Regions from separate parts of the Homo sapiens genome. Here regions 1, 2, 3, 4, 5 and 6 are each linked to region 7. Evidence: promoter capture Hi-C in 16 types of primary human blood cells and fetal thymus (Javierre and others, 2016). All regions are on one chromosome and are shown on one strand. Each heading gives the region's core, a stretch centred on a gene start or on the middle of the fragment in contact. The rest is flanking DNA. Distances are from core to core; before and after follow the strand shown.

Evidence for each region. The method cuts DNA at HindIII sites, captures the fragments that hold promoters and counts their contacts. A CHiCAGO score of 5 or more calls a contact.
Region 1: a fragment that was not itself captured here is called in contact with the fragment with the promoter of PIP4P1 in region 7 in 1 of 17 cell types (monocytes); the score reaches 5.8 in monocytes.
Region 2: a contact is called between the fragment with the promoter of RNASE7 here and the fragment with the promoter of PIP4P1 in region 7, in 1 of 17 cell types (M2 macrophages). The highest score is 5.0, in M2 macrophages.
Region 3: the fragment with the promoter of SUPT16H here is called in contact with the fragment with the promoter of PIP4P1 in region 7 in 1 of 17 cell types (monocytes); the score reaches 7.3 in monocytes.
Region 4: a fragment that was not itself captured here is called in contact with the fragment with the promoter of PIP4P1 in region 7 in 1 of 17 cell types (monocytes); the score reaches 6.0 in monocytes.
Region 5: a fragment that was not itself captured here is called in contact with the fragment with the promoter of PIP4P1 in region 7 in 2 of 17 cell types (fetal thymus and monocytes); the score reaches 6.9 in fetal thymus.
Region 6: a contact is called between a fragment that was not itself captured here and the fragment with the promoter of PIP4P1 in region 7, in 1 of 17 cell types (neutrophils). The highest score is 7.3, in neutrophils.

The regions. Positions count from the first base shown.
Region 1 is chr14:21,255,363-21,259,535 of GRCh38, forward strand. All of the region lies in intron 2 of HNRNPC (heterogeneous nuclear ribonucleoprotein C), which reads right to left. Among named protein-coding and RNA genes, the nearest start is that of HNRNPC, 12 kb to the right of the region's middle. The HindIII fragment of the contact is 3,616 bases long and covers 267-3,882 here.
Region 2 is chr14:21,040,157-21,044,335 of GRCh38, forward strand. It overlaps RNASE7 (ribonuclease A family member 7), which reads left to right and starts at 2,206. Exons shown (of 2, transcript NM_032572.4): 1 at 2,206-2,286; 2 at 2,797-4,077. The coding sequence starts at 2,837. The coding sequence ends at 3,307. It also overlaps a transcript of NDRG2 not described here. The HindIII fragment of the contact is 1,827 bases long and covers 2,015-3,841 here.
Region 3 is chr14:21,382,375-21,386,287 of GRCh38, forward strand. SUPT16H (SPT16 homolog, facilitates chromatin remodeling subunit) reads right to left here and starts at 1,645. Exons shown (of 26, transcript NM_007192.4): 1 at 1,488-1,645. The coding sequence starts at 1,553. It overlaps CHD8 (chromodomain helicase DNA binding protein 8), which reads right to left. Exons shown (of 38, transcript NM_001170629.2): 38 at 2,825-3,802. The coding sequence ends at 3,239. LOC107984643 (a long non-coding RNA gene) reads left to right here and starts at 1,899. Exons shown (of 2, transcript XR_001750627.2): 1 at 1,899-2,339. The HindIII fragment of the contact is 3,293 bases long and covers 1-2,314 here.
Region 4 is chr14:21,313,331-21,317,451 of GRCh38, forward strand. The region is part of intron 10 of RPGRIP1 (RPGR interacting protein 1); the gene reads left to right. Among named protein-coding and RNA genes, the nearest start is that of RPGRIP1, 35 kb to the left of the region's middle. The HindIII fragment of the contact is 7,906 bases long and covers 1-4,121 here.
Region 5 is chr14:21,105,340-21,109,255 of GRCh38, forward strand. No RefSeq gene overlaps it. Among named protein-coding and RNA genes, the nearest start is that of TMEM253, 6.2 kb to the left of the region's middle. The HindIII fragment of the contact is 3,328 bases long and covers 1-3,005 here.
Region 6 is chr14:21,072,370-21,076,369 of GRCh38, forward strand. It overlaps ARHGEF40 (Rho guanine nucleotide exchange factor 40), which reads left to right. Exons shown (of 24, transcript NM_018071.5): 2 at 676-873; 3 at 1,563-2,811; 4 at 2,963-3,130; 5 at 3,276-3,396; 6 at 3,991-4,000. Among named protein-coding and RNA genes, the nearest start is that of ARHGEF40, 4.1 kb to the left of the region's middle. The HindIII fragment of the contact is 1,623 bases long and covers 1,009-2,631 here.
Region 7 is chr14:20,459,391-20,463,643 of GRCh38, forward strand. It overlaps PIP4P1 (phosphatidylinositol-4,5-bisphosphate 4-phosphatase 1), which reads right to left and starts at 2,044. Exons shown (of 7, transcript NM_144568.4): 1 at 1,794-2,044; 2 at 1,265-1,455; 3 at 802-908; 4 at 238-343; 5 at 1-50. The coding sequence starts at 1,935. RefSeq lists enhancers at 1,364-2,330, 2,259-2,328, 2,331-3,296, 2,629-2,708 and silencers at 1,499-1,668, 1,729-2,138. The HindIII fragment of the contact is 6,669 bases long and covers 1-2,610 here.

The sequences.
Region 1 (4,173 bases), core at 825-3,324, 800 kb after region 7:
AAAAGTTCTCTAATTCACTCTACCTCTTACAAATAGCCATGCTTTCTCAGTAGAGAATACATATTTTTAAAATGGTCAAGCTCTCCCAAATGTTGATACAGGCAACACGGTAGTCTATGTGCTCAAATGCTAACTCGACTCTATCACAGCTAAACCTTTTAAAGCAGTTTCTTCAACTATTAACACTGCTTACTAAACCCCTATTACACAGACTAGCTATGCTATTTATGCCCACACAGAATCACAAGAGTTGATGTACATTTTTAAGCTTTTTAATTAGAAGGAAAATACTACCACATTGATCATTATAATAGTCTTAAGCACATAGTACACAAGTTTCAAATCTCCTAAATCCCACTTCTTGCCCAGAGGCAATCAATGTTAATTGTTTGGCATATGTATTTCTGGACATATCTCTTATGTCTTTACATAGAAAAAAACAAATTCTACAGTTGGTGATAAGTGCTAAAGAGTATTTAGGAGAAGGGGAGCTTAAAGCGCTAAATAAGGGAAGACACATCACTAAGGGGGTAGCTTCTGAGTAAAAAGTCTCAGAGGAACTGAGGAACCAAACTGTATGAGTCAGAGAAAATTCCAAGGAAAAGCCCTAAAGTGGAAACATATCCAATGTGTTCAATACAGTTAAGAAGGCCAGTGTGGCTGAAGCACAGTATATTAACAGCAAGGGAAGGGACACAACAAATCACGTGGGATGCCCTGTAAATCACAGAAAAATTTTTGACTTCAATGCTGAAAAAGGCAGCCATTAGGTTGTTTGTTTTCAGGCAAAACATTTTTCAATGGCCAGGCGTGGTGGATCACGCCTGTAATCCCAGCACTTTGGGGAGGCAGAGACGGGCAGATCACAAGGTCAAGAAATCGAGACTATCCTGGCCAACATGGTGCAACCCTGTCTCTACTAAAAATAAAAAACAAATTAGCTGGGCTTGGTGGCTGGTGCCTGTAATCCCAGCTACTTGGAAGGCTGAGGCAGGAGAACTGCTTGAACCCGGGAGGCAGAGGTTGCGGTGAGCCGAGCTCGCACCACTGCACTACAGCCTGGGCAAAGAGAGCAAAACTCCATCTCCCCCCCAAAAAAAAAATCCTTCAAACAATACATTTTAGGATCAATCTAGCTATCACTTTTAAGAACAAAACTAGTGGGGAGGGACAAAAGAAATACAAACCTATTATATATAATAATGCACAGGAGACAAGGGTGGCTTGAAATTGGACCAAGTGTCGACAGTATGAGTAGTGGTATATTTTGAAGAGCTGACAGCATTTTTTCCTTTCTTTTTTTTGTGATAGGGTCTTGCTCTGTCACCCAGGCTGGAGTGCAATGGTGCGGGTGCGATCTCGGCTCACTGCAACCTCTGCTTCCTGGGCTCAAGCGATTCTCATGCCTGTCTCTCAAGTAGCTGGGACTACAGACACTTGCCACCACTCCTGGCTAATTTTTGTATATTTTTGAAGAGACAGGGTTTCACCATGTTGCCCAGGCCGGTCTCAAACCCCTGAGCTCAAGCGATGCGCCTCCCTCAGCCTCCCAAAGTGCTGGGATTACAGGCCTGAGCTACCACACCTGGCCAACATGATTTTCTAATAGGCCAAAGGTGAGAAGAGTAAAAGTCAAGGATGGCTAGCCAAAATCTTTGGCCCAAGAGACACAAAAATTGTTTCATTAACTGAAAAAGGCAACAGTACACAAGAGACTGGTTTGAGGCATGAACATCAGGAGCACAGTTTTGCACTTTTAAGTTGACATATTGGATATTCAACAGAGTTGTCATGCAGGTAAACTGAATTGGTATGACATTCGAAAGAAAAGTATAGGCTGTTGATCTTAAGTGTCGAAATCAGCTTATAGGTGGTATATTACATCATGAATGAATCTGAATGAAATTGGACCCAGAGTGTGGACAGAAAAGAGAAGTGGAAGGACTGAACCATGGGGCACTCCAACAGAAAGAAGTTTAACATGTAACAGAAACATGTAACAAAAACCTGGAAGCAAAGTAAAAAAAAAATAAAAACGTTTCAAGGAAGAGATCTGGTTAAATGGAACCAACAGGTCAAGTGAGATGAGGATTGAAAAAGGACCCCTGGGCTTAGTTAATGCATCCGTCTCCGTGGTTCTTTTTTAACCACAAATAATTTTTTTCTAACTGAAGTTCACTTCGGTTTTATAAGTCTTAGAAAAAAAAAAAAGATAGCTCACTTTTGTTTTTTTACTTTAAGAGATAGGGTCTCACTCTTGTCACCCAGGCTGGAGTACAGTGGCGCAATCATAACTCACACTGACCTCAAACTCCTGAACTCAATTAATTCTACCGCCTCAGCCTCCCAGGGAGCTACACTACAGCTGTGTGCCACCGTGCCCAGCTTTTTGTAGACAGGCTCTTGCTATGTTGCCAGACTTTCCTGGCCTTAAGCTATCCTCCAACTTCAGCCTCCCAAAGTGCTGGGATTATAGGCATAAACTGCTGCAACTGGCCTAAAGCTCACTTTTAAAATGTGCTTGCTTCCCTATTAACAATGCCATCACAACCATGGTAACATTTTACCAAGATACATCTACCTAAACATTAACTACCTTGCACATATACACATCTTTAAGCCATTTAAGGTGTTGGGAAATCAAGGGCAAAAATATAAACATATTTAGTTTTAAAATTTTAATAATAAAAGTCCAAAGTTGTTCTTTGGAACTTTAACCAAACTAAAATCTGTTTTTCTAGAATGCTCAGCCGGACACAGTGGCTCACGCCTGTAATCCCAGCACTTTGGGAAATCGAGGTGGGCGGATCACGAGGTCAGGATTTCTAGACCAGCCTGGCCAACATGGTGAAACCCCATCTCTACTAAAATATAAAAATTAGCTGGGTGTGGTGGTGCATGCCTGCAATCCCAGCTACTCAGGAGGCGGAGGCACAAGAATCGCTTGAACCCAGGAGGCGGAGGTTGCAGTGAGCCAGAGATCATGCCACTGCACTCCAGCCTGGTGACAGAGCGAGACTATGTCTCAAAAAAAAAAAAAAGTTCAACATATCAAAGTGACGAAAGGAGTCTACTATCATTAAGTGTTGAAATCTGCACCCTTAATCCCAGGGTTGAATCCATGCTAAACCACTAAAGCAGTTTAACTTTAGGCAAGTTATTTAAATTCTGTACTCCAATATTCTCACCTCTAAAACATGAATAACAGTATCTACTCCTACTCAAGGTTTTGATGATGATTAAGTTAACACAAACTCACAACTTTAACAGTGTTGGACATAGTCAAGTGTTTAGAATACTTCCATAAATTAATGTCCTGCTACTTTTTTCTGCCAAATCAGAAAGCCATTATATGACCCAACAAGGTATCAGAAATAATTAGTAATTTCCTGGAGCCTCATCAGTTCTCAACCTATCTTACTCAGACTGATTTTGCTCATTAATACACCCAATAAAAACTCATTTGAAAAACCAGGGCAAGTTATTGTTAGGCTTGGGATGATTATTTTCTTCAAGAGATTGAGACAGTGGCCTACTCTAATAGGTCTCCAAACTTACTGCCCTACTTGCCCTCTTAGTTCTCATCACTAATATTCCCTACACAACAGAAGATAAACCAGACCTCTTCTTCAAAATCCTTCAATAGATTCTACTTGTGCCCAAGACAGGATCTTAAACAAGACCCTCTAAGGTCCCGTGCTATGAAATGTTTGGTCCTTGCCTACCTCTCTAACTCCATCCCTCATCTATGTATTCTTGGTAATTATTTTCCAGTATTATTTCTTACTTGGAGGCCAAGTCTTGTTCCCCCTCATTATCTGTGCTTTCACATATGGTTTTCTTACAGAATGAGCTTCACCATTAGCTACTTCCACGTAGCTAAGCTTCCCTGGCAGCATCCCCCAAATTCCATGTTCTAATTTTGGTTCCCTTGCCATCTTCTCATCCACGCTCTTCTTTTCCTTCATCGATCCTTACTGTGAAAAGTGCCATTTACTTTGTTTCTTCCCTCAATGATCTATAATATCTAAGAGGGCAGGGGACATGTTTTGTTCATCCCTATATGCCCAAACCTAATGATTTTCAAATAGTACTCAGATACTTAATAAAACATCTTATACTTGAATGTTCCTTGAATACCTCCAAGATGTTTAAAATATTCTTTTTCCCACC
Region 2 (4,179 bases), core at 956-3,455, 580 kb after region 7:
AAAGTTTGGGATACCTTAACAAAGAAGTGAACAGCTGCTCCCCCAACCAAGGCCTCGCTGAGGACAAACCAGAAGAGCCAGAGGCCTGTGTGAACTTGTTCTTGATTCTCTTTTGCCATCTAGTGGCATTTCTCATCTCCAGCACCACTTTTGCTTCTAAAGATCCTTCATCCTGACCCCCAACCCACAGCTGTGCTGTCCAGCTACTAAAATAATGTCCTCCTGGCCTCAAAACAAACTCCCCATCCTCCTGACTTAGAATCATAAATTCTGGACCAGAACACAAACTTTATGATCAGGATGGGTTGTGCGACTTCTCCACAGTTATAATCCACACAACAGCCAGGTAATCCTTTAAGCTGACACGTTCTTTATTCATCTACTTAGAACCCTTCCAGGGTTCCCTACTGTGCTTGGAGTAAAAGCCACAGGCCTTCAAATGGTCCGTAAGTCTTCCCAATGACCTGGTCTCTGGTCCCTCTCTGAACTCTCAGTTACCTGCTCCAGCCACACTGGACACACTGCTGTTCCTCCAACACCTCAGGCATCTGTCTGCTCTGGGGCTTTTGCAGTGCTAGTCTCTTCACTTGGAACATTCTTCCTCCGGATAATCACAAGTTCACTCTTATCTTCAAGTCTCTGCCCCAGAGTCAGCGATTTCAACGATGTTACGTAAAATTACTGACCACCAACCCCTATACTGTTCTACTTTTTTCCCTAGCCATTATCACTTTGAGCAAAGTATACGTATTTTTTTTTACTGTCTTTCTCCAATGGAATGTAAGCTCTACAAAGGCAGGGACTTTTGTCTTTGTTTTTTGTTGTTGTTTGTTTGTTTGTTTGTTTGTTTTTTGAGACAGGGTCTCACTCTGTGACCCAGGCTGGAGTGCAGTGGTGCAATCATGATTTTCACTGCAGATTTTATCTCTCAAGCTCAAGCAATCCTCCCTCCTCAGCCTCTGGAGTAGCTGGGACCACAGGCATGCACCACCATGCCTGGCTAATTTTTCAAATTTTTTATAGAGACAGGGTTTCGCCACATTGCCCAGGCTGGTCTTGAATTCGTGGCCTTAGGCAATCCTCCTGCCATGGCCTCCCAAAGTGCTAGGATTACAGGTGTGGGCCACCGTACCTGGCCATTTTTGCCTTTTTTGTTCAGTGATATATCCCAAGTATCTTGACACTTAGTAGATGCTCGATAAATGTTTGTTGACCACATGAATGAAGCATGCCCAAGATTCTGAGATTGCCTACTACTTACAGGTAAATTCTGAAAACAAAAATATTCCTCATCTCAGTTTTACAGGCCTTCTCACCCACAGAGGGTGATGCTTCTCTGCCTTGGTGTCTCGGTTCTCCTGAGTGTCATATTCCAAGCTCACAAGAGCTTGGAGTAGCACTGACCCAGATGCTCCACACAGCTGTAACCACCACAAGGAACAGGACATACAAGGTGAAGGAAGCACTAAGGCAGGATGTCGAGAGCAGCAACAGCATTTTAAACACAAACATTTGGGCAGTATTAAATTTTTGCAATTTTCAATAAAAAAGGGAGGGAACAAGTGAAATTGAGAGGTGTTGGCTGCCTTCTCCAGCTAAAGCCATGTGGCCTTGGTTGGTACCTGGAACTGGAGAGGCCTGTGAATCATTGTGGAATGGCTTCGCTATTGGGGATGGTGCCAGGCCTCGTGACAGTGATGATTCATTCACCCACTTCCCTCGTGTCTGTTCCATCTCCTCCGAAAGATAACCAGTATCTCCAGATGACAAGGAACCAGACAAAGCATCTTTCTAGGCTGTCCTATCTGTGCCTCAGGTCAGAGAAGAAGCAACCCTTAACACCACAGTGATTGACTCTTCCCAGGATCAAGGGCCAGAAGTGTATATGAGAGGATATGAATGACAACTCTTCCTGAAATTGATTTCAGTTGACACCTGGGTCAGGTGCTCTATTAAAGAGTCATTAAAATCATGTGGCCAGGGAACAAATACAGTCTTCGAATGTGACGATTCAAGCTTCCTCATTGCTGAACATGTTTAGGCAGGTACAGGCATCCTTAGGTGTCCACGTATTTGGGACATGTAAGTGGAGAGGCATGAACCTGATTCATTTCCTGATCCAGTGATGCTCCCAGCCCACCCCCAAACAGACACAGCGTAGCCCGGGCCAGCTCTTAAGGAGTTCAGGAGTGAGAAGAGGCCCTCAGAGATCTGACAGCCTAGGAGTGCGTGGACACCACCTCAGCCCACTGAGCAGGAGTCACAGCACGAAGACCAAGCGCAAAGGTGAGGCTGTGGCAGGATCTGGGGAGGAGTGAGGACAGAGAAGGAGGGATGGGTTCTGATCCTGAGAGTACACTCAGGTGAGCGATAAAATGGATAAAGGAGGGACTGGATTTAGGGGAGATGAGGACACGCATTGGGGAAAGGGGAGAGTGATGTTGGGGATGGAGGCAAAAAATGAAAAAGAATGGGAACACAGACGAGATGGGAATCGGGAGAGGATGAGACACAGACACAGGAACATGGAGACACAAAAGGGATGAGACTTAAGGGAAAGGGGAGAGGACAAAGAGTGACAGGCAACAGGGACAGAATGAAGGGAACAGAAATACAAGATGAGAGATGGGGCCACAGGGTTGTTGTTGGGGCTGCAGTGGATGTGGACACACAGAAGAAGAGGCAGAGATGAGACACAAAGTGAGGAAAGGAGACAACCGAGTAGGGAGATGGGTGACTAGCTCATATGAGCAGGTATAAGAGGACTAATTTCTCAACTGAACACCTCTGTCCCAGCGACCCCTGCCCTCCATCCTGACTGCTCCTCCTAAGAGAGATGGCACCGGCCAGAGCAGGATTCTGCCCCCTTCTGCTGCTTCTGCTGCTGGGGCTGTGGGTGGCAGAGATCCCAGTCAGTGCCAAGCCCAAGGGCATGACCTCATCACAGTGGTTTAAAATTCAGCACATGCAGCCCAGCCCTCAAGCATGCAACTCAGCCATGAAAAACATTAACAAGCACACAAAACGGTGCAAAGACCTCAACACCTTCCTGCACGAGCCTTTCTCCAGTGTGGCCGCCACCTGCCAGACCCCCAAAATAGCCTGCAAGAATGGCGATAAAAACTGCCACCAGAGCCACGGGGCCGTGTCCCTGACCATGTGTAAGCTCACCTCAGGGAAGCATCCGAACTGCAGGTACAAAGAGAAGCGACAGAACAAGTCTTACGTAGTGGCCTGTAAGCCTCCCCAGAAAAAGGACTCTCAGCAATTCCACCTGGTTCCTGTACACTTGGACAGAGTCCTTTAGGTTTCCAGACTGGCTTGCTCTTTGGCTGACCTTCAATTCCCTCTCCAGGACTCCGCACCACTCCCCTACACCCAGAGCATTCTCTTCCCCTCATCTCTTGGGGCTGTTCCTGGTTCAGCCTCTGCTGGGAGGCTGAAGCTGACACTCTGGTGAGCTGAGCTCTAGAGGGATGGCTTTTCATCTTTTTGTTGCTGTTTTCCCAGATGCTTATCCCCAAGAAACAGCAAGCTCAGGTCTGTGGGTTCCCTGGTCTATGCCATTGCACATGTCTCCCCTGCCCCCTGGCATTAGGGCAGCATGACAAGGAGAGGAAATAAATGGAAAGGGGGCATATGGGATTTGTGGACACAGCTGTTTCTGTTCCTGAACTAGAAGTCTTCCCCAGCTCTGACGTGGCAGTGAGGTGACCTGAAGGAAAGAAAAATATAAATAAATACCACTTCATATTTGTATAGAATCCTCTAATCCCTTGTGACATAGACTTGACAGGGATTGTATGCCTTCTTTATGGATGAGGAAATTAAGGTTTTAGAAAGCTTAATGAATTAAAGAGCTTGTCTAATTAGTTAGTAGCAGAACCTGGACTTGAACCTAGGTCTCCTTGCTCTAAATACAGTGTACCTTCTACTCTACCAGTTGCGCAAGAAAGAAGTCACTGTTACAGAGGCAAGCGGTGAACTAGGTAAGAGTTCACTCATGAAGAAACGAGTGCTCTGAAGAGCCAGTTACCCTGTGTTGGCTGCAATAAAGGTCATTACCTCTCTAGCCAAGAGATTGTTTATGAGGTGCTCTGGCATTTTATTCCTTCTCTCTCTTCCTCTCTAACTGCCCCTCCCGTTTCTCTAGACCACTGCTCTTCCAACCTAGGCCCT
Region 3 (3,913 bases), core at 395-2,894, 920 kb after region 7:
TTTCATGGATTTAAAGACTATCAGTTTTATTAGGTTTGCCAACCTGTCTTCAGGCCACAGTTAATTTGTCATGTAGAGGAAGTGAGAGCTATAGATTAGTTTTCATGAATGGTATAGAGAGAATGAAATTATTTGATGAATCTGAATCACTGGGACTAGAAACAATTTTCATACCAAAGGTTCACAGTTTCAGGGTTTATGGGTACAAGAGAGGGCTTCGGATTTTTAGTACTTACTGATCATTAGAAAGTATCAAGGTTTTAAAATGTTTTTCTAACATCGATTATGTTTGAATAATATGACACTGAGAGAAGCTGCAAAAAATCATTTGGTAGAAATTAATCAAAAAATTAAAAAAAATAAAATGTTCAGTATTCATCTAGCATTTAGTTCTTATTTTTCCTTTTCATAAAATGCAAGAGAATCAATTTTATTTTCAATTATCTAATGTATTTAGCCCCAAAAGATGAAACATGCACAGACAGCTTTAATATGAATGGCAAGGAAACGACCAATTTTAATGGCTTGGTTTTAGTAGATGACCAGTTTGAAAGATAATTTACAATGCTGAAATGAGAGCTGATCATTTTTCTCAAAACGTTTTTCAGGTTAAAAAAAAATCTTTATTAGCTGTATCTTCCCTTGATGACAGGGTTCAGGGGCAAGACTTAAGCTAGCCAACTCAGACTGCATCACAGAATGCAACCAAATGTTTGCTCAATTAGTAAGTTAACATCATAAAAATAAGTTTTAACTGTGGACGTTTTTAGAGCAGCAAAACTGCCGAATCTTTAAAAAACTGGGAACTGCCACAGCTCTTTTAATGAACACGTGCCCCGGATACGCTACCAAGGAACTAATAAGGTTTTAGGCATCGTTTTGTTTTGTTTTGTTATTACTAATGCCTGCAGGCTTTCAGCGTTAGGTCCCTCTCTGTAACCCACAGCAGGGCCTAGAACATGAGGCGGTTGCGCGTGAGCAGTATTTCTTTTTTTAACTCCAGCAAAAGCCCCGCAAACGATAAACGCTAAAAGCCCGATTGACATCCTCCTTGCCCTTCCATCTCTCCTTTACGAAGACGGTTATAATCCTGGCGGGACCAGGGGTGGAATATTGTGGTTCTGGAGGGACAGAGCGAGTGCGTGAGAACACGGCAGGGGAGGGCAGCAAGACGTGACCACGGAGTAGGAGGGAAGGATGTTGCCTCTTCTAGGGCGGGAAGAGACTGCGAGAGGTGCTGCTATGCATGACCAAGGCTGGCACGCGGGGAAGATGGTGATGGCCGCAGGACAGGGTGAATGCGGGGGATTCCCTGTTAAGGGGCAGCGTTCGTGGCCGCCTCCGGTGAATGATTCGGGAGCAACGAAAAGGGTGAGGCACAGAACCCGGGAATTCCTGACCGAAAGAGAAAAAAGGGCGCCGAGAAACAGGGTTATTATGGGATGGCTAAGGGGGCTCCCTAGGAAAAATTACAGGATCTTCCTCACCCGCCAATTGCTGTACAGTCTCTTCACTCGCCGATAATAAGCGTCTTTGTCCAGAGTCACAGCCATAGCCCCGGACGCCGCTTCTCCTCGGGTTCCGAGAATCACGCGAGGTCCCGGCTCAGCCACCCGCTCTCGGCCCAGGAATCCCGCACTCTCCCAATGACCCGGAAGTATCGACCTCAAAGATGCCCTTTCCGCTTCCGGGTCCCAACAGCGTTAGGTTTTTTTTTTGTTTGTTTGTTTGTTTTGTTTTTTTCCAACCCTCTTTCGGATGGACGGGGGAAAGAGAGAAAGAAAAACGAGGGAAAATCAACAAAATGTGCGATGCAAAGAGTCGATTTTCGCGGGGTTTGTCAACTTCGCCACTGCCGCACGCGAATCGACGTCGTCACGTGACGGTCTGCCTCCGCCCTTATTAACTCTCAGCCCAGCGGCGGTTTCCAGGACCTCAGACTTTTTGCCGAGGCGGCAGTCCCTAGACGAAGCGAAGGAGGCGGCGCCTGCCCCGCCCACAAGAGCTGCCGCGCGCGGGTGTTATAGCTCCACCCCATCTGCAAAGGAAGGGGGAGCGGAAAGAGCGGGATCTAGCGTGGGATAAAAGTGGGACTACTACAGTGTAACTGGGCATGCGCCCCTCCTAGAAATGATGGGAATGCAAAAGCCCTTGACTGCTCCAGGACTCGAGGGATCCTCGGTGCCAGGATGCTGGGTCAAGCGCTCCGCCGGGACAGAGGACTCATACCAGGGAAATGGAGCCCAGCCTCGTGATAAACTACGACCCAAGCTGGGGGAGGAACCTAGTTTTCGAAAGGAAAATAATATGCGCAAGCTTTAACTGAGCAGTGGGATGGTGTAAGTCAGAGGAAACAGATGACTTGAGGGGCTCTACAAACTTTTAGTTCCTTCCCACAACCCCACCCCCTGAGCCCAAGTCGCGGCAGCATCCTTCCAGTCGGCCAGTCCCCTTGCTGCAGTTCATGAAAACTGGCACTATTCTATGGCTTCCCCCAAATAACCGTTACTTCAGTTAATTAGAAACAAAACATAAATGGTTCCTGATGACATTCTTGCTCCCTGTCTCTTCTAAAAACTTGGAGTTTGAATCCAGAAGTTTGCCTACCTACCATTTACCTTAAATAATTCCCTTGCCTTTAGCCAGCTGGACAGTCTACATTTGTATATACCCTTTAGAGGAGTACAGATGACTTGTCTGCTGTAAGGCAATTTAGTATAAACAGTATTGAACTTAAGGAAAGTGGTGCTGAAATTACCCACCATTAACAACTCAAAATCAATACACTGGGTTTGAGCAAACATAGAACAAAGGAAGAGTGGAAAAGGATTAACTTAAATTTATTAATGCCAAGGGGAAAGAAGGTAACAGTTCCTGACCCTCCAGCTGTATCCACAGTTCGGCCAGGAACAGGCTCTGCCAGAGGCTAGGGCCAGCGCTACATAGTCTGTGGTTAATGGAGGTGACTAGGGAGGGGTGAGCACACCAGCTGCTCTAGTCTCCTTTCCTTCCCCAGAAATGAGGAAGTGGTCATGTATTATTTTAGGAGTTCCCCTGCCCACCCAATCCTCTCATAATTGGGAGCAATCAGGTACATTTTTTTTTTTTTTTCCTTTTCACCTCCTGGAGTCCTGGACTTCCCCACATCTCCCCTGCCCCTCCCACGTTTCCATAGTCCAAGGGCCAGAGTAAATGAAAATACAGCAGCCGCCCAAGCAATGGGGCCCATGCTGGGGCTTCAGTCATCAGCATCTTCACTGGAGTCTGAGTTAGCTGGCATCATAGGATCATCAATGAGTGAGAAGTCCCTTTCTGAGCTATCATAGCCCTGAGATAAGTCATCATCATCTTCTTCATCCTCATCGTCATCCTCCTCAGGTTGCAGTGGTGGCAACCGCAAGGTAGTACCAGAGGCGGTAGTCACTGGTGAAGAGGGGTAGCCAGGGGCTCTCAAGCCTGGATGGTGATGGTGGTGATGGTGGGGGTGGGGGTGGTGGTGGTGGTGATGAAGCATGGTGCTGGAGTCTACATGAGGGGATGATGGTGCACCACCCATCACAAATGGCATAAAAGGCAAAGATGCAGAAGTGGCACTGCTGTGACCCAAAGATGACACAGACTGTAGGCCACTACTGCTGTGTTGGAACGTGTTATGCAGAGATAGAGACCCAGTGCTTCCACCCTGCATGAGGGCCATCATCTTAGAAAGGTCTGGTCGCATCCTACGGGCCCGCTTCTTGCTGCTCTCTGGTGCAATAGGCCCTGGCAAAACCCGGTTGAACACCGTTTCAGTGTGATGACCCTAGGAGGAGGGAATAGAAGATAATAAAAAGAAAGAAAGGGGAAAAAAGAAAAGAAACCAAAGCCAACAGAGTCCTAGCTTACAATGCTTTTTTACTGAATGTACCTTAGA
Region 4 (4,121 bases), core at 1,502-4,001, 850 kb after region 7:
GTTCTCCACAAAAAGAAAAAAAAAAAAAAGAATGTGAATTACTGCCCTGATAGTAATAGCAAAAAAACAAAAACAAATAAACAAATAAAAAGGAAACCACTGATAAGAGATTGATCACATAAAGCATGTTGCATCCTCACAATGAAGTGCTATGCAGCTGTTAAAAATGAGATAGATGGCCAGGCGCGGCGGCTCATGCCTGTCATCCCAGCACTTTGGGATGCCGAGGCGGCCAGATCACGAGGTCAGGAGTTAGAGACCAGCCTGACCAACATGATGAAGCCCTGTGTCTACTAAAAATACAAAAATTAGCCAGGCACAGTAGCGCGCACTTGTAATCCCAGCTACTCAGACAGCTGAGGCAGGAGAATCGCTTGAACCCGGGAGGCGGAGGTTGCAGTGAGCTGAGATTGCGCCACTGGACTTCAGCCTGGGTGGCACAGCAAGACTTCCTCTGAAAAAAAAAAAAAAGATACATTGTAAAAAGAAAAAGCAAGCTGAAAATGAATATGTTAACTCTGACATGGTTTATGTTATGTATCTTTATGGTTCCACAAACCTTTGATGAGATAAGAGGATTAGAATAAGGCAAAGGGGCACCTTCACTTTTATTCTTTTTTTTTTTTTTTTCTCTTGAGATGGGGTTTCACTCTGTTACCCAGGCTGTAGTACAGTGGTGTCATCTCAGCTCACTGCAACCTCCACCTCTCAGGCTCAAGCAATCTTCCCACCTCAGCCTCCCAAGGAGCTGGGACCACAGGTGCACACCACCATGCCTGGCTAATTTTTGTATTTTTTGTAGAGATGGTGTTTTGCCATGTTGCCCAGGCTGGTCTTGAACTCCCAGGCTCAAGTGATTTTTCCACCTCAGCCTCCCGAGTAGCTGGGACCACAGCCACACGCCACCACACCCGGCTAATAGTTTCTATATTGTGCAGAGACAGGGTTTCGCCAGATTGCCCAGGCTGGTCTCAAACTCCTGGGCTCAAGTGATCTGCCTGCCTTGGTCTCCCAAAGTGTTGGGATTACAGGCATGAGCCACCGACCCTGGGCTATTCTATATGCTGATGTATTATTCTAATTTTTCACAATGAGCATGTATTCATGCATTAATTTTATAATTAAAAAGAACTGGAAGTGGCCTGGCATGGTGGCTCATTCCTGTAATCCCAGCACTTTGGGAGGCTGAGGCAGGAGGATCGCTGGAGCTCAGGAGTTCACGACCAGCCTGGGCAACATGATGAAACCCCTTCTCCACAAATTATTTTAAAAATTAGCCAGCCAGGCGCGGAGAATCACTTGAACCCAGGAGGCAGAGGTTGGGGTGAGCTGAGATCAGGCCATTACACTCCAGCCTGGGCAACAAGAGCAAAACTCTGTCTCGAAAAAAAAAAAAAAAATAGCCGGGCAGCTGGGCGCAGTGGCTCATGCCTGTACTTCTAGCACTTTGAGAGGCCAAGGCAGGCAGATTGCCTGAGCACAGGAGTGTGAGACCAGCCTGAGCAACATTGCAAAACACTGTCTCTACTAAAAATACAAAAAATTAGCTGGGCGTGGTGGCAGGGGCCTGTAATCCCAGATACTTGGGAGGCTGAGGCAGGGCGAATTGCTTGGACCCGGGAGGTGGAGGTTGCAGTGAGCTGAGATTGCACCACTGCACTCCAGCCTGAGCAACAGAGCAAGACTCTGTCTCAAAAAAAAAATTTGGCTGGGCATGGTGGCGTGCATCTGTATTCCCAGATACTCAGAAGGCTGAGGCAGGAGGATTGTTTGAGCCTAGGAGGTCAAGGTTGCATTGAGCCATGTGCAGTGCAGTGCAGTGAGAAAGTGAGACTCTCAAACAAAAAAAAAACCTGTAAGTAAAAGAAAAAAGTTTTTAAAACTTAAAAGTGCCAGGCTGTGCGCGGTGGCTCATGCCTGTAATCCCAGCACTTTGGGAGGCCGAGGTGGGTGGATCACGAGGTCAGGAGATCGAGACCATCCTGGCTAACACGGTGAAACCCCGTCTCTACTAAAAATACAAAAAATTAGCCAGGCGTGGTGGCAGGTGCCTGTAGTCCCAGCTACTCGGGAGGCTGAGGCAGGACAATGTCGTGAATCCGGGAGGCGGAGCTTGCAGTGAGCCGAGATCGCGCCACTGCACTCCAGCCTGGGCGACAGAGCCAGACTCCGTCTCAAAAAAAAAAAAAACAAAAAACTTAAAAGTACCTTTGATCTAGTAAAAGGCAGCAGGGGGTAGATTGAGGAGGTCTTACGGGAGCATCTGGGAACAACTGATGTTCTTCAGCTCAGTGAAATAAAGCAGTGTGGGGAGTATCCACTTCGATAGACATTACTCTGTGATAGACATTACTATTTGCCTCTCCCCTTCATCACTCAAAATACTATTTTCTTGAGTCCTTACATGATATATGGTCAGGCAATGCCAAGAAATGTTAATACTTGCCTAAGTAGGTTATTATTATTATTATTATTATTTTTTTTTTGAGGCAGAGTCTCACTCTGTTGCCCAGGGTAGAGTGCACTGGTGTGATCTTGGCTCACTGCAACCTCTGCCTCCTAGGTTCAAGTGATTCTCCTTCCTCAGCCTCCCAAGTAGCCGTGACCACAGGTGTGTGCCACCATGCCTGGCTAATTTTTGTGGTTTTTTTTTTTTTTTTTTTGAGACAAAGTCTCACTCTGTTGCCCAGGCTGAGAGTGCAGTGGCGCAGTCTCGGCTCACTGCAACCCCTGCCTCCCGATGTTTAAGCTATTCTTCTGCCTCAGCCTCCTGAGTAGCTGGGATTATAGGTGCCGGCCACCACACCTGGTTAATTTTTTGTATTTTTAGTAGAGACGGGGTTTCACCATGTTGGGCAGGCTGATCACCAACTCCTGACCTCGAGATCTGCCTGCCTCAGCCTCCCAAAGCACTGGAATTACAGGTGTGAGCCACCGCGCCCAGCCAATTTTTGTATTTTTAATGGAGATGGGGTTTCACCATGTTGGCCAGGCTGGCCTCGAACCCCTGACCTCAGATAATCTGCCCACCTTGACCTCCCAAAGTGCTGGGATTACAGGTGGGAACCATCCAGCCTGGCCGGTAAGTTATTTATTTATTTCTTGAGACGGAATCTCACACTGTTACCTGGGCTGGTGTGCAGTGGCACGATCTCAGCTCGCTGCAGTGTCCGCCTGCTGGGTTCAAGCAATTCTCCAGCCTCAGCCTCCCAAGTAGCTAGGATTACAGGCACCTGCCACCACACCCAGCTAACTTTTTGTATTTTCAGTAGAGACAGGGTTTCACTATGTTGGCCAGGCTGGTCTCGAAGTCCTGACCTCATGATCTGCCCTCCTCGGCCTCCCAAAGTGTTGCGATTGCAGGCGTGAGCCACTGTGCCCAGCCTGGTAAATTATTTTTAAACCACATTTACTAAAATGATAAATAAGAAATAAGACATAAAAAGAAATAATTGTTTGATTATTAGTGTCATTTCATTTGTATGAATGACCAAGAACTAGCCATGTGGCTGGGCATGGTGGCTCACACCTATAATCCCAACACTTTGGGAGGCCGAGGCAGGTGGATCACCTGAGGTCAGGAGTTCAAGACCAGCACAGCCAACATTGTAAAACCCCGTCTCTATTAAAAATACAAAAATTAGCTGGGCCTGGTGGTGGGTTACTTTAATCCCAGCTACTCAGGAGGCTGAGGCAGGAGAATCGCTTGAACCTGGGAGGCAGAGGTTGCAGTGAGCCAAGATTGCACCCCTGCACTCCAACCTGGGTGACAGCTCGAGATTCTGTCTCAAAAAAAAAAGAAAAAAGAAAAAAAAAGGAACCAGCCATGTGTATTTTATACTCAAAATGGGTCTGCTCTGACAGCTTGATACAATAGGGTGGAGGATACAGTTGTTGAAAAGTTTAATTCCCGCCCTTCAGCATAGTAATTTATAATCTAGGTCAAAGACAAATATTCTCTAAACTCACCGTTGGTGAAGGTAGATGGAGGCATGGGGTTTGAGAAAAGGAAGATTTTGTTCCTCATTTCTAATCCGGCAGGCCTGAGAAGGTCTTGATACATAGTTCCCTGACTAAAGAAAGCCATCATGGTGGAGAAGTTCCTTGGGAAATGGATATGA
Region 5 (3,916 bases), core at 92-2,591, 650 kb after region 7:
CCCATTCAATGGCCAAAGCAAGTCATATAGCCACACCCAACTTAAGGAAGGCCAGAAGGGCAATGCCTGCAAGGAGAGGGGAAGCAGAAATACTTCATTAAAAGAAACATAGTTGGGCGGGCTCGGTGGTTCAGGCCTGTAATCCCAGCACTTTGGGAGACCAAGACGGGTGGATCACCTGAGGTCAGGAGTTCGAGACCAGCTTGACCAACATGGTGGCCGTGTCTATTAAAAATGCAAAAATTAGGCCGGCATGGTGGTGGGTGCCCGTAATCCCAGCTACTCGGGAGTTTGAGGCAGGAGAATTGCTTGAACCCAGGAGGCAGAGGTTGCAGTGAGCCAAGATCGCACCACTGCACTCCAGCCTGGGAGACAAAGCGAGACTCTGTCTCAAAAAGAAAAAAAGAAATGGAATTAATAATTTGTGATGATTTTTGAACAGCTTAGCAGTTGAAATTTATCTGTTCCAGCAGTTATGCCCATACCTACTTCTTTGGTTTGGTTTCATGAACCCCTAAGTTCTTACTAGAAATTTTTCCTCAAAAAAATAATAGGACTGGGACTCAGGAAACCTAGATTCTAATTTTGTTGCTTGGGCAAGTCAAACCTCTCTGAACTACATTTTGTGCACTTGGAGGTTATGGTAATATTTATTCTGTCTACCTTACTGGAGTATCAAGGCTAAAATAAAATCACACAAGGAAAAGTACTTTAAAACTATAAACCACTTCAGGGGTTAAAAATAAATTGCCTGTAGAGGTAAGAAGTAGTTTAAATGATAATTTCTTAAAACTCAAGAGCCAGTTCAGCTATAGTTCTTCAATCATCAGTCTGCATTAGATAAACATAGTAGGAATTCAGGTTTTGGATATATGTTACAGTTCATGTAGACCTTGCAAAGTCCAAGAGTCTTCGATTAAATATTAAATTCTTAAAACCTTTCTGATAAAACCTTTTTCATCATATCCCTCTAGGGCATTGGTTCTCAGAGAAAGGTCATTTCGTTCCCCAGAGGATATTTTGCAAGGTCTGGAGACATATTTGTTAGTCACAACTGAGGAGTGGGGGAGGAGGGAATATGTAACAATGGAAGGCGCAGTAGATGAGAAGTCAGATTTGGGATTTAGTTCCAGTGCTGCTAATGCCGCTTTCCTGTGCATTATCCTCTGCCAGCTGCAAGCAAAGACTATTGGAGACTTGTCCTGTGTTCCTCATTATTCCCCCTCCACACTGCCTATTGCCACAGTCCCGGGCTGCTCCATGACAGCGTTCTGCTTTGCTGCAGTGATTCCCAGCAACCACTGTATCTGCCTCTTTCTTCATCAGTTTGGCAGCCTCTGTGGAGGTCACTCATTTTACTTGAATGGGAACTTCACTGAAAGAAGAAACTGACAAGGTTTCTGCTGACGTCAGTTTTTAAAGGCCGTGACCCCTATCTATTCTTTTAAACATTAAAGAAATCCAGTTCATGATATGTGGCTTCATATGCAGCTGTGGCACATTGGTGGTCGGGAAATTCTCCATGTGAATACATTTTACCCTCATTTCTTTGAAATTCTGTCATTTATTCTGGCTTTTAATACGTGATCATAGACAACTGACAGTATTTCACAAATGAACTCTTTTCCGTTTCTGAATCTGCCTTTTGGCAAGATGGCTCAGGTTTTGTGTCCAGGGCTGTGTCCTCTGCTGCCATCTCGTGGCCTCTTGGCTGCCCAGGTTGAGGTCTCACAAAGTGCCTTTCCTAAGGTAATGGCATTTGGCAGTGGCTTAGTTGGGGAAAGACTCTCCTCTCCATGGTGTGGGGCGCTCCCCAAGTTCCTCCTCTGCAATGGGCCCCTGAGGGCAGCAGCACACTCGGCCTGGCTGGAAACCTGGGCCTCACAATGAGGCAGGAGGCGGAGGGCCCCTCCTGGTCTTCTGCAAACCCTTGGGCCTCTGTGTCTGTTATGCAGTCCTGGCCAGGAGCCACCAAATTCAGTGAACCCAACTACCCAGGGGTAATTGAAGCTGACCGCGCCTGCCTGGCCTGAAGAATGCAGTCTCTTGCCCCTTGCCACCTGGGACTGGGATGCTCTTAATTTCAGTAAGAAATGAAGAGTCTCCCAACAGGTTTCTGGATTCTAGGCCCACACAAAATGGGTCTAGACAAGAAAACAGAAGGGTGTGTTGCTCTGCGTCCACACCCTTCATCCTGGCGGGCCCAGCCAGTGCTGCCTCAAATTTGACATTTGATTAATGGGCTGGCGGGACAGTGGCAGTGGTGTTCTCACTGAGTCACTGTGTTTCCTATAAATATGACAGGATCTATGTACTACAGTGATCAGAGGTCCATCTCCAGGGAACTGGGAATGTGAGATACTGCCCTGACCTGGGCTGCTGCTGCTGGTGACTAAGCAGTGAGCACAGGAGGGAAGGCAGGAAAATGTTTTTAGTTGCTATTTTTTTCATTGTGATAACATGTGTGTATACACACACACACACACACACACACATATGTATATATATATAACTATATATATACCTATATAGTTAAAATCTTCCCATTGCTAACAAATTCATACAACTTTCCCCTAGTTGTTAGCCCCCTCTCCTGACTCCACCCAGCTCCCATAACCCCTAATCCCAGCCTTCTCAAAAAAAAAGGAGGAGGAAGAGAGGAGGAGGGGAAGGAGAAAGGAAAGGAGGAGGAGGTGGAAGAAGAAGAAGACTGCTTTTGGTGTTTGCTTTAACCTGATGTCCCCATTATAATAATTCAGAAGGAAAGGCCTGCTCATATAATTTCCTACGGCCTCAGGCCAGAGACAGCCATACTTACAGGTAAATTGCTACTAGGCTGGCTTCTCCTTAAAATTCAGGTGCCATTTACTATCATCTTCTGTTTCTTTTATGTTTTTCCTTGTTTGCCTATTTTTTTTTCTGACTTATTTCATTTATATTTTGTGTTGCCTACTTTTCTTGGTTCCACTTAGCATCTGAATCTTTGGTTTATTTTTCTTATCAGAAGCTTTTCCTAATTTCTGTCCAGAGTTAATGAATTTTCTTTGTTGATTCTTGACAGTTTTCCCTTGCCATCCATAAAGTTTTCTTGTTTTTACCCAAGTCCAAACTACTAAAATATAATTTTATTTGCTTTGCCTCGTTATATGCTCTCTTTATATATAAAGAAAATGCTATGTGCTCGCTCTTATTCCTTTTTGGAGAGAGGGTCTGGCTCTGTTGCCCCAGGCTGGAGTGCAGTAGCGCGACCTTGGCTCACAACCTCCGCGTCCTGGGCTCAAGCCGTCTTCCCAGTTCAGCCTCCCAAGTAGCTGGGACTACAGATGTATGCCACTACATCTGGTTAATTTTTGTATTTTTTGTAGAGAAGAGGTTTCACCATGTTGCCCAGGCTGGTCTCCAACTCCTGAGCTCAAGCAATCCACCCAACCAAGCCTCCCAAAGTGCTGGAATTATAGGCATGAACCACCGCGCCCGGCCCACTCTTATTCTTTATGTAAAGCTAAAGTCATAGCACAGGAGAAAGAGAATTTATGCTTTTATAAGCCTCAAAGATAATTATGATGAAAAGAAATTGTTCTTTGCGTAACTAAGAAGTGAAACTGGGTCCAGTGGTTACTTGTTATAGAGAGGCCAATTTTAGACTGAAAAATAGAAACTGAACACCTTTCAAAAGATGAAATGCTTTCAAGTTGGGCTCTCAGCCTGTGGATATGTTAGAGCTGTTTTGTGCAATAAGCTTTCTCATGCAATGACAGGTTATTGAAGCAAATATTCAAATATCAGCTGAGTGGTTGAATTAGATGACTTTTAATTTCTCTGCCAACACTCAGATTACATTGGCTTTTCAGCCGTGATGATGTTTTTTAATTGACCCATCCATACTCTCCAATGTCTCGCCCTGGACAAAATTGTA
Region 6 (4,000 bases), core at 570-3,069, 610 kb after region 7:
CTTTGTAATCCAATCCCACATGCTCTAAGATTGGGTGATTGCTTCAGAGCCACTGTGGGAGAAGGAAGAGGGATGCTAGAAAGACCCAAGACAGTCACAGACAGTCTTTCCATCCTCCTCTTTCCACCAAATGACCATCTCTAGCATATAAATGAGCATCTCTCTTTCACCAAATGATCATCTCTGGGACATAATTGTGGGTGATGGCACCTCCACCTAAGATGGGGAGCCCTGGATGGTGGGTCTTATGGGAAGGGATTTGCAGGATGGCTGTGTGGAAATCTCCCTCATCCCCTCGAGTTCTCAGCCATAAGCTCAGTCCCCTGATAGCCCAGAAGCCTGTCTTTTCTCTCCTGGGAAAGATCTATGCAATCACCCCAACTCACGAGCACCCGGAACAGCCCTGATCAGGGGCATTCACAACAAATTCTCCCTGGATCTCCAAAGCCAAGGTCTCAGAGCGGGAGTGTTGAGCGCCCTGCCAGGTTTGTGCACTCTGGCCCAGCCCCACTCCTGTTCTGGGCTCATCAGCCAGCATTTCCTGAGTGCTCACTTTTTGCCCACATTGTACAATCGGGGCTTTGGAGAACACAGCCAACCCCAGACCAGTGCAGCTCCCAAGGAGCCATGATTGGGTGATCTCTAGGGATCTGTAGCCTGGTCCTATCTCTACAGGAGCCTGAGCCAGTGGAGGACTGTGTGCAGAGCACTCTCGCCGCCCTGTATCCACCCTTTGAGGCAACAGCCCCCACCCTGTTGGGCCAGGTGTTCCAGGTGGTGGAGAGGACTTATCGGGAGGACGCACTGAGGTACACGCTGGACTTCCTGGTACCAGCCAAGCACCTGCTTGCCAAGGTCCAGCAGGAAGCCTGTGTGAGTGGCCGTGCATCACTATTCTGCCTTCCCCAAGATCCACTGCCACACTCTACAGACTAGCCAGGCTGACTAATGCCCCCACTAACCTAGAGATACAGCCTCCCTTGAAACCGATCTCTCCAGAATCACTTAAGCTTCATTCTCTGACCTCTCACAAACTTTGACCTTCACAGGCACTGACCATTCAGATGCTAACACACACACACACACACACATTCATCTTCCCCAAATTCATCTTGACCCCAATACTGACCCCCAAAGACCCTAACTCTCCAGACCCAATTCCAGACATCTTCTCCCCCTCATATGAATTTCTCAAGACACTAACTCCCCCGTACATTAGTCAACAGAGATCATTCATTTCTACAGATATAAAGACTCCTAAGAGTCTTTAGCTTCTCCAAGACAATGGCATCTGCTGACCATGTCTTGGTAACGATTCAGTTCTTACCCTCCCACACATGGAACTAGCTTCCTGAAGAATCTTCCTACTACTGGGAGACCGATCAGTCCCAATCCCTTCCTCTCTGCCACCTGAATACCCCAAATCTCCCCTCCTGCTCTCCTGAGAGTATAACCTTCCAGGCATAAGGCTGGTCCTGCCTAGGGTGGGCCCATTCTAACTGCCCTCTCCTGCTGGTTTCTTCAGCAGAGGCCTGAGTGCAGCCTCCCACCTCTCTCCCCAGGCCCAATACAGTGGATTCCTCTTCTTCCATGAGGGGTGGCCGCTCTGCCTGCATGAACAGGTGGTGGTGCAGCTAGCAGCCCTACCCTGGCAACTGCTGCGCCCAGGAGACTTCTATCTGCAGGTGGTGCCCTCAGCTGCCCAAGCACCCCGACTAGCACTCAAGTGTCTGGCCCCTGGGGGTGGGCGGGTGCAGGAGGTTCCTGTGCCCAATGAGGCTTGTGCCTACCTATTCACACCTGAGTGGCTACAAGGCATCAACAAGGACCGGCCAACAGGTCGCCTCAGTACCTGCCTACTGTCTGCGCCCTCTGGGATTCAGCGGCTGCCCTGGGCTGAGCTCATCTGTCCACGATTTGTGCACAAAGAGGGCCTCATGGTTGGACATCAGCCAAGTACACTGCCCCCAGAACTGCCCTCTGGACCTCCAGGGCTTCCCAGCCCTCCACTTCCTGAGGAGGCGCTGGGTACCCGGAGTCCTGGGGATGGGCACAATGCCCCTGTGGAAGGACCTGAGGGCGAGTATGTGGAGCTGTTAGAGGTGACGCTGCCCGTGAGGGGGAGCCCAACAGATGCTGAAGGCTCCCCAGGCCTCTCCAGAGTCCGGACGGTACCCACCCGCAAGGGCGCTGGAGGGAAGGGCCGCCACCGGAGACACCGGGCGTGGATGCACCAGAAGGGCCTGGGGCCTCGGGGCCAGGATGGAGCACGCCCACCCGGCGAGGGGAGCAGCACCGGAGCCTCCCCTGAGTCTCCCCCAGGAGCTGAGGCTGTCCCAGAGGCAGCAGTCTTGGAGGTGTCTGAGCCCCCAGCAGAGGCTGTGGGAGAAGCCTCCGGATCTTGCCCCCTGAGGCCAGGGGAGCTTAGAGGAGGAGGAGGAGGAGGCCAGGGGGCTGAAGGACCACCTGGTACCCCTCGGAGAACAGGCAAAGGAAACAGAAGAAAGAAGCGAGCTGCAGGTCGAGGGGCTCTTAGCCGAGGAGGGGACAGTGCCCCACTGAGCCCTGGGGACAAGGAAGATGCCAGCCACCAAGAAGCCCTTGGCAATCTGCCCTCACCAAGTGAGCACAAGCTTCCAGAATGCCACCTGGTTAAGGAGGAATATGAAGGCTCAGGGAAGCCAGAATCTGAGCCAAAAGAGCTCAAAACAGCAGGCGAGAAAGAGCCTCAGCTCTCTGAAGCCTGTGGGCCTACAGAAGAGGGGGCCGGAGAGAGAGAGCTGGAGGGGCCAGGCCTGCTGTGTATGGCAGGTGAGATGACACGGAGTGAGGCTCATGGGGCAAGGGCCAAAGCAGGTCGGGCCTATGGGAGGGGGCAGGAGGAGGAGCAGGGTTAGGCTGGGAGCAGAACAACCAGAACCATCTTAACTTCAGTCCCATGTTTCTGTCTGTGTCTGTGCAGGACACACAGGCCCAGAAGGCCCCCTGTCTGACACTCCAACACCTCCGCTGGAGACTGTGCAGGAAGGAAAAGGGGACAACATTCCAGAAGAGGCCCTTGCAGTCTCCGTCTCTGATCACCCTGATGTAGCTTGGGACTTGATGGCATCTGGATTCCTCATCCTGACGGGTCAGTGGGCATCAGTGGGTGAAGGGAAACAGGACTGGGAAAGAGAAGCAATTGGGTGGGCTTGGGGACTGGGGGAGGCAGGGTGGAAAGGAGGTAGGCATGGACTGCTCCCAGCCAGGACAGCCTGGCCATTTTGTGTCTTCAGGAGGGGTGGACCAGAGTGGGCGAGCTCTGCTGACCATTACCCCACCGTGCCCTCCTGAGGAGCCCCCACCCTCCCGAGACACGCTGAACACAACTCTTCATTACCTCCACTCACTGCTCAGGTAACCGAGGCCCAGTCCTGGCACCCTGGACACTAACCTCCTGATTCATGAGGACCCTCACCTCCTTCTTCTCAGGACACTGACCTTCTGACCTCTAAGGACACCTACTTCTTCAACCTTCAGACTTCAAGCCATTGACCTTTGGCCTTACTTACCCTGACCTCCAGCTTCATATCTTCACTGATCTTCAAAAGCAACACTGTTGACTTTCACTCTCTTCCAACCCTACCAAGATCATCAGGACATTGGTTCACTGATTCAACAAACATTTATTGAGCACTGAGTACCTATTAGGCACCATACTACAGGCTGATATTGAATGCACGCCATTTCAGAACAGAATTCTTAATTTTCCAGACCTTAATCCCTTGACCTAGTAGCCATATGAATATAGACCCCTGACTGCTAGGTGACTTCCTCTTGTACACACACCCCAGAATTTGGCCCTTTGCCCATTTCTTCCCAAATGTACCGGCAACTAATTTCTCCTCAGGACTATTAACTAAAAACAGACCCCGTATGTCTGCCTTGCCTTATCTGCTATCCCCCAAAACACACACACAGCAGCCTCCTTGGCTCTTCCTGCTCCCGCAGGCCTGATCTA
Region 7 (4,253 bases), core at 794-3,293:
TTCCTGCAGTGAGGACAACGTGCCAAAGTGCGGTCTGTGAACTCTGTCCACTATGGAGAAAGAAAACAAAAATAATAGCACAAGCAGGGTCTCCCTCAATGAGAACCTTGGGGTGGGGATGCAGAACATGTTCCCATAGGACAGACCTTTCAGGGGTCATTACCATTACTCTAAGAAATATACTCGAAATGACTCTTAGTCTCCTTTCCCCTCCCCTTCCCAATACCCCTTCCTCACCAGAAAAGTATTCTTGCAATGTCCACAGATAACCCTGACACCCATGGGTTGGGGTTCTGGACTCAGAGGTCCGGGATGCACAGGCCCCAGGTTGATGATTCTTTTGCTATACAAAAGAAAAAGACTTGTATTTTCAAACTTGTGTTTGAAAAATTTTTAATCCTAAAAATCTTCACAGTCCCTGTTCCACATCCCCCACTCCCTGTCTATTAAGTCACTCGACTTCTCTGTACTTAAGATACTCTGTCCCCCAACTGTATACCCTCAAGAATCCTTGAGAAAGAAAGAGCACTGTTTAAACTTCAGGTCCCCAATTCCCCTCCGACCTCAGGATAACACACCCAGTCCCCAAGGCTCTCTATTCTCCGAAACGACATCATTTCATCTCAATATTTTTATTGAGAAACGAGAAAGACAGCTATAACATTCCTGAGGCACATGCTTCAAAGCCTTTTCTCCTAAATAAACACTAGGCTCTCTCACCTTTACATTCTCTGTATACGCTCATCCTTTTTTGACTTTCCAGTTCCCCACTTAGGCCCTTCCCCACCTTATGCCTCTTACCAGTAGGGCCGAGGGCATGCAATCCGTTGGGATGTCACTTTGCAGATAAGGAGACAGTTACAGGGGCATCGAACATATTTTTTCCCTGGGGGTGCATTCTTGATTGGCTAGAGAATAATAGGGTCATCAGCAAGCAAACCTCTAATCCCAATCCCCTCCACTTCCCTCCAAAAACACTTTATGAGATCAGAAAAATAAGGTGCTAACCAGGAAGGAGAAATAAAAGAAAGACTATATCATGAGATTTGCAAATAGGAACTAGGCTAGGTGTAAAAGTGAGAGAAAGTGAACATTAGCTTTGGTGAGTGGCTTCTGGGGAAATGGCTGTGTGAGACACCTGGAACTGAAACCTGGGTATCATCAAAAGCACTTGGCTAATAGCCGGAAGGTCAGGGTCTAGAACCAAGACATCAGAAAGAGGATCCAGGAAACAGGGCCCATTTCATAGATATGTGTAACTCACGGTGGCTTCATTGCAGACACCACATTTGACTACATGCTGATGCATCTTGCCTTCCACGTTGATGAGAGATTGGCAGACTCGGCAGGTGATCATAGGGGCACTCCCACTGTCCGGGCTAGTTAAGGGTGAATAGGGGGGTGGGTCCTCCCCAGGCAACACGGCTGGATGCCCCTCGGGAAACGGGGGAAATGCTGGAGAGGAAGCAAATAGAAGGGCTGGGATCACTTACACCCCCACTGATGCTCCACGGTGGTAGGGAAGTCCTTCTGATCTTCAACCCTCTGACCAAGCTCGGAGGGCTTCTCATAATTGGCACTTCTATCAGGTTGCTCAGAACCCCCTTCCGTCCCTAGGCTGTGGTCGCGATTACGGAGGGAAGGAAGCCTCGCCCAGTCACAGGTGCAGCAGTCCCGCACCTGGCGACTGGGACCCGCCTCCGCCCTCGGTCCCGCCCCCTCCCCGGCTTTCAGAGTACCCCGGGGAGCACCTCGGACCCGCCCCGGCTTACCCTGGGGCGGGGCATGTTTACCGGCTCCGTACGGTGGTGCGGAGGGGGTCAGGCCTCCCCCGGGCCCAGCCCCACTCCCGCCGGGCCCCACTAAACCGTTGCCGCCCGCGCCACCGTCGATGGGCTCAGACAGCAGCGGGGAACGCTCTCCATCTGCCGCCATGGCCGCCACCGCCGCCTCCCGCTCAGGTCGGCGATCCGGCTCCCTTCGCCTCTGCCGTCGCCGCAGCCACCGCCACCGCCGCCACCGCCACCGCCGCTACCGGGTCCCCAGGGCGCCTGCGCGCCGCGCGCCCAGCTCACTCCGCAACCAGTGGCCTGCCCCGCCCCGTTCCGTCTAGCAGCACGTGATAGGCTATCCCCGCCCGGGTCATGCTATTATTCGCGTAGATAAACCAATTCCTGGTCCTGTGAAGGCAGCTCTCCTTTTCCATTGGGGAGCGACGCACAAACGTCAACTGTCACATGACCTGCCAGATGCTGCTGGGCTTGCAAAACCTGCACGTGACTAGAGGTTCTGCAAGCTATTGGGAGCGACGCCCATCGCGCTACCTCCAGACCAGGAGGTAGGGCTAGGCTGCGTCTGCTCAACTGGTCACGTGTTTCTGGAAGCTGCACGGTCCCTGTTGCTCTGCTCCTCATTGGTTCAAAGACACCACTAAAACACTTTTCTCCGGCTTTGCGTTGTAGCTGGTTTCCTATTGGCTGGTGACTTTACTTCTTTCGTCCTGTGATCCTAGCGGCGCAACTGCATTGGCCCGAACTTAGCGCCAGAACATGGGGGGCGTGGCTTATGCATTTTAAAGGAGGCTGGGCGGGTGCAATAAAGGAGTGCGGAAGCTTGGGATCTTCTGAGCGGGGAGAAAATGGACGGTGGGGAACAGTAGACAAAGTTAGCTGTTCTACTCAAAGAAGTACCTTTAAAAAGTCAGAGTAATGAGGTACCAGAAGGAAATGGATTAAAAAGTTAAGATTATCACTCCAGCCTTTGTCGCTAGAGTCACTTTCAGGACAGGACACAAGACTGGGTTTTCCTGGAAGCTGTCCTTACAGAGCCCCGTCTTTCCCCATTGCTGATCAAATTGTTAAATTATCTTTTCATTAGTGTCTCCACTACTAGAAGATTTCATCGTTTTACTAAAAAAAAAAAAAAAAAAATTCAATAGAGATGGGGTCTTGCCTATGCTGGACTCAAACTCCTGAGTTTGATCTCCTGCCTAAGCCTTCCCAGTAGCTGGGACTACAGGGACAAGCCACCGTGCCTTTACTCAGTTTTATGACCACCAACCTTTAACATACGCACAAGTTTGTAGATTGGATTAATCAAATACAAGGTTATTTTCGTCACCTTATTTGACAGATGGGACAGTCTTTAGGCCTGTCTCAACTTTGCTTCCAGCAAAGGGGCAGTGCCTCCTCCCCTACCTGAAGTCTCGTGTGGTCTTTATGGGCGCCTGAACCACACCTGGATTTTTTCCCAAGTCATAGCCCAAACTGGGACTGCTTTAAATATGGGAAGCAACAAGGAATTGATAAAAACAATAAACCCCGAGGAGGTCCATTATCAGTTTGGCTAGCAGACTCTCCACTAAGAAAGGAAGTGCATCAAAGAAAGTACAGCCAGCCCCAAATATGTAATAACAAAGGAACTGCAGATGTCCCAGCACTTGGCTGCTACAGGGGCTGGAGACTTCACCTAGGTCCTGATTTTTTTAGACAGGGTTTTCTCAGGCCAACTTCTACTTGGAAGCTAGTAACCTTCGACCAGTTAGATAAGAGCCCCTAACAGACACTTAAAGAACTAAGGAAGCTCCAGATACAAAATAGGGAAGAGGTTGTAGCTCCATAGAGGGAGGCCAGTCTGCTGCTTTTTCTGCTGTTTGTGGCACACAGATGCTCAAGCATTGTCTGGGGTTGGAGTAGGATCCATTATTTGCGCCCTAGTTACACATATATTCCAAAAACTGTCCTAAAAATATTTTTTAAATATCTACACTTTGTGAAAGACACTCCTTAAAAAAGCTTACACTCTGGGTAGGGAGACAGAATAGTGTAAACATTGACAGTATAACATATCAGGTCAGGAGTGGTGGCTCATGCCTGTAATCCCGGTGTTTTGGGAGGCTGAGGTGGAGGATTGCTTGAGCCCAGGAGTTCAAGGTTACAATGAGCCATGATCTAAACCTGGGCAACAGAGCAAGATCGTGTCTCAAAAAAAAAAAAAAAAAAAAGAAAATCAGCACTAGTATTTTATTACATGGAAAAATATCAATACTAGAAATTCATGATACAGCACATGCTTCATAATAAAAGAATTAAACAATGTAATTCAAGTTCAAGAAAAGAAGAGATCACTTCTAGCTAGAGCAGCCAGAGAAAACTTCTAAAACATAAAGAAAAATGAGTATTGTGCATGGATAACTAGGATCTGAGCTCTGTGTTGTTGAGTAGATCAATAGGCAGAAAAATGCAAAAAGTAAT